2 separate regions of the Homo sapiens genome follow, and region 1 is linked to region 2. The links are contacts of gene promoters, found by promoter capture Hi-C in blood cells and fetal thymus (Javierre and others, 2016). All regions are on one chromosome and are shown on one strand. The core of a region is centred on a gene start or on the middle of the fragment in contact, and the rest is flanking DNA. Distances in the headings are between cores, read along the strand shown.

Region 1 (2,996 bases), core at 375-2,874, 400 kb before region 2:
CAGAAGCAAAGGAGAGAAGCTGAGAAAACCTCAGCCCCGAGGCTGGCCTTCTCCTCTGATGAGAATGCGAAGTTACTCATGCTGCTCCGAATCCCAGCAGGCTGGAACACAACATCTGGCAGAAGCCGGCAAAGCAGAAGCGTCACTTAGAGGCAATCAAATGTCAGAAACCATCAAAGACACTCTGAGGGGCAGGCCTGAGGTCCTCCTCAACGCACACCTGCCCCCACTTGCCCACAGCCAGGCTGGCAACGTGCCTTAGCAGTGCATGAAAAGACACTTCGGTCCTTCTCTGTGTCATTTAAACTGAAAGGAGGAGGCAGGCGTAGGAGGAAGGTGAATGAAAATGGTTGCTTATTTCTTTAGGTGGCGCTGGGTCAGTGAATGCACACCAAGGGTGCGAGGATGTCATCACCCTGTATTACCCCTCCAGATGATGCCTCCGCCCCAGAGACACAGGCACGTGCACATGCATGCACGTTCTCTCTACAAGCTTTTCCCGGGCTAACTCGGAATATGTCCTCTCTGGCTAACATAAACATTTGCTTTGTTTTCCTGATCAAAACTGAATTCCCATGTTTCCAGAACATCAGCCCCTTTCTTGCTTTCACTTGCCATGGAGCCCTGCCTTGGTTCTGCCAGAAGCGTCCAGGGCTCCGTGTGATTGGCAGCTGCTGAGTACAGGCGGCAGGTTCAGAGTCAGACCCAGGACACTGGCGGAGTTTCCTTTGTTTACTGGTATAGCTTCTTGTTAATACATAAATAGCTTTCTCCTCTGAAAACCTACAGATGCAACAGAAGAGACCTACCAACTGACAATCGCCTTCGAGGTGACAGACAATAGAGGCCACGGCTAAGGATGCAGGTGTGGAAATAAACAGATATAAAAACACAGGACTTGAAAAGAAGGAAGCAAAGGCAAAGAGGAAATTTAAGACTGAAATGGACAGAAATGACCTTGATTTAGGGTAGTGCATTGCTAAAAGACGGGGCCCTGTCCATCCCTTCCTTACTCCAAGACATTGAGATAAAGAATATTTCCTTCCCAATCAGACAGAAATAGTTGAAGTGCAATCGTCCTTTCTCCAGTGGTTGCTATTTCAGGAAATGGGTTCTACCAAAACAACTTTTCACCCATTTCGTGGCTTCCAGAGCACACATGGCGTATGTTCTTTCCCTTGAATGCAGAGCTGATTAAAACTCATTTATCCAGGTCAATGTTGCATTCGTGTGTGTGTGTGTGTGCACATGTGTGTGCCTGTGTGTGCAGGTCTGCGTCTACACAGATACATACATACTTCAGGTAAATAACAACTGAAAGGAGCTTTGGTCAGTCCTTCAGAGGGACTTTCTAAGGGATCATTTTTATTAACCCTACTTTCCACTATGGGAACTTTATTAAGAACCTATAATGTAACATTTTTAGAAACACATGCCATACATCTGCCATTATATACACATTTTTTTCTATTCTGGAGCCGTTGGCAAATATTACTTCTAAGCAGAACGGTCACACTTCTGAGCTGTTACTTTGAGAATAGAGCACGGTTTGTTCACAGGCCAAGTTATGGCAACAGAAGAAAATGCCTCTGTCTTCCAAAATTTCTCAATTACCTTTTGCTACTTTTGCTGGCCCAAAATAATAACACGGGGAGATTAATAGAAAATAAGGCTCTTTCTAGTCTCACGAAATTTCGTCTCTGTGATTTTATGTGAGTCTCAGCACTGCTGGTGTGTTTCAGCCTTGACTTCTCTCTGTGAAATCATCAGGAGCTTTAAAACAATCCCAGTTCTATTTCTTTTCTCCAAAATGAATCCACATCCACATTTCACCTCTTTGAAAATGCTGGATCTTAAAATATATGTGCAGCCTTTCACAGAAATAGGCACTCCTGCTTCCTGGAAACACACTGCTGGCGTCTTCTCATACCGTCTACCGCTGGCTGCAGCCTCAGCTCCTGCGGAAGACACAGCCGCAGCCGAGTCCGTATCCTCGCCCAGCGGTCAACGCAGCGCCGTTCCCACCATTGTACAGAGAGGTTTGTGCTTGGTGAAGCCCTACTGCAGGGGATTTCTGAGTGTCGAAGGAGGACAATATAAAATATTTTCCTGAAAACTTAACTCTGTGGTCCTTCACAAATACTTTGTTTTAATTTTAAAATATGTAGTATTCAGGCTTGATTGAGATTTAGAAATTTTTACTAAATTTTTGTTTGAGGGTGTGGTGTTGGGGCCCTGGTATTGTTTCAAATACACAGGAATAAAAACGGAAGGTTTCTTTTGGCTATCTGTAACCTATTCATTCGGTTGGCAAAGATGCGTAGCTCATGTAGGGCAATGTTCCCAGCTTAGGCAAATCAGGGGCACCTGGGGAATGGCGATTTGGAGAGAGGAAGGTGGGCTCATTCTGGTGAACAAATATTTCCTTAGGTAATTTTGCACACAGAGTAAAAGTGAAAGGCTTCTTAAGAAATTGTGTTTACAATTGTATAAACATCTTCTTTCGAGGATATATTGAGCTGGTCTAATCTCCAAAGGAAAAATACCCAAGTCAAGCAAAGCAATTGAACTACATCGAAGATGAACTCACCAAAGCGATCTACTGAATGTCAAAGTGATAAGATCATCGCACAGAGTATGTGGGCACCGCCCCCACCCCCATCGCGGTCTGGTTTGAGACTGTGAGGACTCCAGGTTGATTCTATCGCTCCTGGCAACAGGAAACTAGCATAGGTTAGATCAGTGCAAGCCACGGAAAGCTTGAAAATGGCTCGGCCAAAAATGCTCATCTTTCCTGCACCACATATTTTGCTGGAATCGCTTGAAATAGCCTGCTCACTGGCAATCCCTCTTCCCATTTCCAACCTGATGGCAACGTGCATGGATACTGAGTTGGGGAAAGAAGAATCGGATGGGGGAAATGGAGGCACAAAGGGTCCGAATAATCCTCACCTACAGTCATTTGGGTTTTGGTATCTGTATTTACAGTTATCCTA
Region 2 (3,128 bases), core at 2-2,501:
AGCAACTGTGCCCATGTTTATGCTCTGATCCTTGTATTGCAGTCTTAAGACTTCTTCTTCTTCCAGAATCCCAAAGTAGGAGTAATTATTATTTAGGTCGCAGGTAGTTCCATAAACACGGGCGTTGAGGACGCTGGCTGTTGTCAGGAATAGGAGTCTCTGGGGTTGAAATCTGGGGGCTCTGCTGCCTGCCCTTTGCCTCGGAGGGTGTGGAAGACCCTCCGATAGGAGCTCCTGAAGGTGGGGCTGGAGAAGCAGTATACCACGGGGTTGAGCACACTGTGCAGGTAGGTGAGGCTGCCCGTGACATCCGAGGTATGAGCCACTGCACAAAGGGCCCTGCAGCTCCCCAGATTCTGGAAGATGTGCATCAGGACTCTGGCCAGGAAGCAGGGCAGAAAGCACAGAGCAAACAGCACCACCACCAAGGTGACCAGTGCCTGGGCCCGCTGAAGCTTGGGCTGTTTCTCAGGCTCCCGGAGTCTTTTCTGGAGAGCCCTGATGATGCCTGCATTGCAGAACACGATGAGGCCAAAGGGGAGGACAAACTGAAGGCAGGAGAGTGCTTCCTGCCAGATGATGCTGAAGGAGCCGTCTGCCCTGGAGTAGAAACTGTGGCACCTGGTGGAGTTCTGGGCGGCCTCAGAGATGAGCAAGCCCGGGCAGGTGAGGGCGACCATCAGGAGCCAGACGAGGCCCGAGACCCCCAGGGCCGCCTGAGGAGACAGCAGGTTGACCTTAAGCCGAGGGTGGACCACACGGAGGTACCGGTCCAAAGCCACGGCGGCCAGGAAGGCCATCCCCACGCTGCGGCTGAGGTCCAGCAGGAAGTGCAGGGCCCAGCAGCCCACACGGCCCAGATGCCAAGCCTGGAGGCTCAGGTAGAAGGCGGCCAGGAAAGGCAGGCACGCAGCCAACAGCAGGTCAGCCAGGGCCAGGTTGAGCAGGTAGACAGCGTACGGCTTCCACACCCTGACCCGGAACAGGAAGGTCCACAGCGCCACCGCGTTGCCCAGCAGACCCAGCCCACACTCCAGCCCCAGCAAGACACCCACAGCTGTGGCCACCACAGTGCTGGGGGCTGAGCAGTTTGGGAATGGCATCACCCGGCCGTGAGGGGCTGCAGGCACAGCTGGAGCAGGTACAGGAGGAACTCTGTGCTCTTTCTTACAAAATGAAAGAAAAGGCCTTTTCCTGCCACAGAGTAGACAAGATCTACATTTGCCCAACAAGAACAGTTCCTCAGCAGAATAGAGTCCACAGCAAACCAAAATTCATTTGGGGAAAGAGGATGAGCAGGGGAGGGAAAAGCCCCTTTGCAGTTGTGTTCTGTTTTCTTCCGCCATAAAAAAGGGGAAATGGTGTTTCGCTTCACATCACCGGGCTGCAAAGCTGAGGAGTAATGTCCTATAACGTCTGGGGGTCCAGGGCTTTGCATCCACAGTCCTGAAAGAAGGAAAAGTCTAATTATGCAAAGACTCCTATGTCTGTATACAATTAAAATAACAATGGAATCAAAAAGATTGTTCTCTACTTTGAATATGTTTCATGGGGAAATTTTCTTCTTCCTTTTCATACATAAAGGACGCTTGCTGGGATCCTTCTGCATGGGGCTTGATTTTACACACTGGTCAGATGTGGTCCCCACACTTAAACTTGAAAGGGGATTTGAGACAACCTGCTCATTCCATAGCTGATGGTTTCACTTGTACTTGTGTTTTGTTAAATACAAATTTATTTTATTTTCTCTGCTGGAGTCTTTCCTACCTAGTACACCACTTGGATTGGGATCTGGACCAGCAGGGCCTGGAGTGGGCCCTGGAAGCATGGAAAAATCAATGGCTTGTAAAAATGCGTAGAATCCACTAGAAAGTTAGGTTCATCAGCCAGGGACATACTCCATATATCCATGTGTCGCTAGTGACAGACAATGCCTGGCACACAGCATTATCAACAAGCATTTCTTTGATGAATAAACGTGTGCAGTCATCATTACCCTCTGATGACCCTAATACATCTCAGTCCTTACCCATCAATGACCCTATTATACTTGGTTCTCACCCAATGTTGACCCTAATTTACCTTGGTCCTTACCCACTATTGACCCTAATTCATCCTGGTCTTCACTCAACGTTGACCCTACTTCATCTTGATCTTTTCCCACTTTTGACCTTACTGCATCTTGGTTCTTACCCACTGATGATCCTAATTTATCTCAGTCCTAACCATTCTTGATCCTACTTCATCTTGATCCTTACCAACTGGTGACCCTACTTCATCATAGGTCTTACCCATATTGACTCTAATTTAAGTTGGTCCTCTCCCACTGTTGACTCTAATTTATCTTGGGTCCATTCAGCCTGGTTTGAATTTTGGAGTTAAGTAAACTTTAGTTATAATTTTTTGTTTCTCCATTTATTAGCAGTGTGGTTTTGGGAAAGCAAATTAACTTCTCTGAACTCCAGGCTCTTCACTTGAGAGGTGAAGATGGTAACACCTTCTTGAAGAGTTCTTTTGAGTAGTCAAGGTACTATTACAGGTAAAGCACTTAGCGCCATGTCTGGGTGTTGTGAGAGCTTGATGCTTTTACTAGAGTATTTATTAAGCCTCTCTGATGCATAGGCTTTAAAAAACTATTCGTTATCTCTTAACGCGATAAAACACTTTTGTACTAAATATCCGTTCTATGGTGTTTTGATGCCTTCAATTATAGTATCCAAGTTTAAGGCTTTAATAATTATTATTACTAAAGTATACTGCATGTTCATTGCGTGTCAGTCATTGTTAGTGCTGGCCTAAGTTATTTCAATGAACCGTACAATAGTGAGATGAAGTAGGTACAATGTTAAGCTCTATTTTATGAGTAAAGAAATGGAGGCATGGTAAGATTAGGTAATTTGCTCAAGGTCACAGGCAGGTAAGTGGTGGGACCAGGACCCTCCCAGCCCAAATTTCAACCAGAACTGGATTCACAGCTTCCCTATAGTCCTATGGCTAATGGTCAGGCTTCACTCTTTTTCAAGTCCCATAGGGCTGTGATTTGTATGATATCAAGGTAATTTGACTTGCATTCTTCTTGCTTTCATTATTCCATTATTTTTAAAAATGGGACTACCAGCCCACATATC

Evidence for each region. Contacts are between HindIII fragments. The CHiCAGO score rates a contact against its expected background, and 5 or more counts as called.
Region 1: a fragment that was not itself captured here is called in contact with the fragment with the promoter of GPR31 in region 2 in 2 of 17 cell types (activated CD4 T cells and non-activated CD4 T cells); the score reaches 7.7 in activated CD4 T cells.

Annotation. Positions count from the first base shown.
Region 1 is chr6:166,757,839-166,760,834 of GRCh38, forward strand. It overlaps a transcript of RPS6KA2 not described here. Among named protein-coding and RNA genes, the nearest start is that of RPS6KA2, 130 kb to the left of the region's middle. The HindIII fragment of the contact is 2,266 bases long and covers 492-2,757 here.
Region 2 is chr6:167,156,729-167,159,856 of GRCh38, forward strand. GPR31 (G protein-coupled receptor 31) reads right to left here and starts at 1,252. Exons shown (of 1, transcript NM_005299.3): 1 at 1-1,252. The coding sequence starts at 1,103. The coding sequence ends at 144. The HindIII fragment of the contact is 7,257 bases long and covers 454-3,128 here.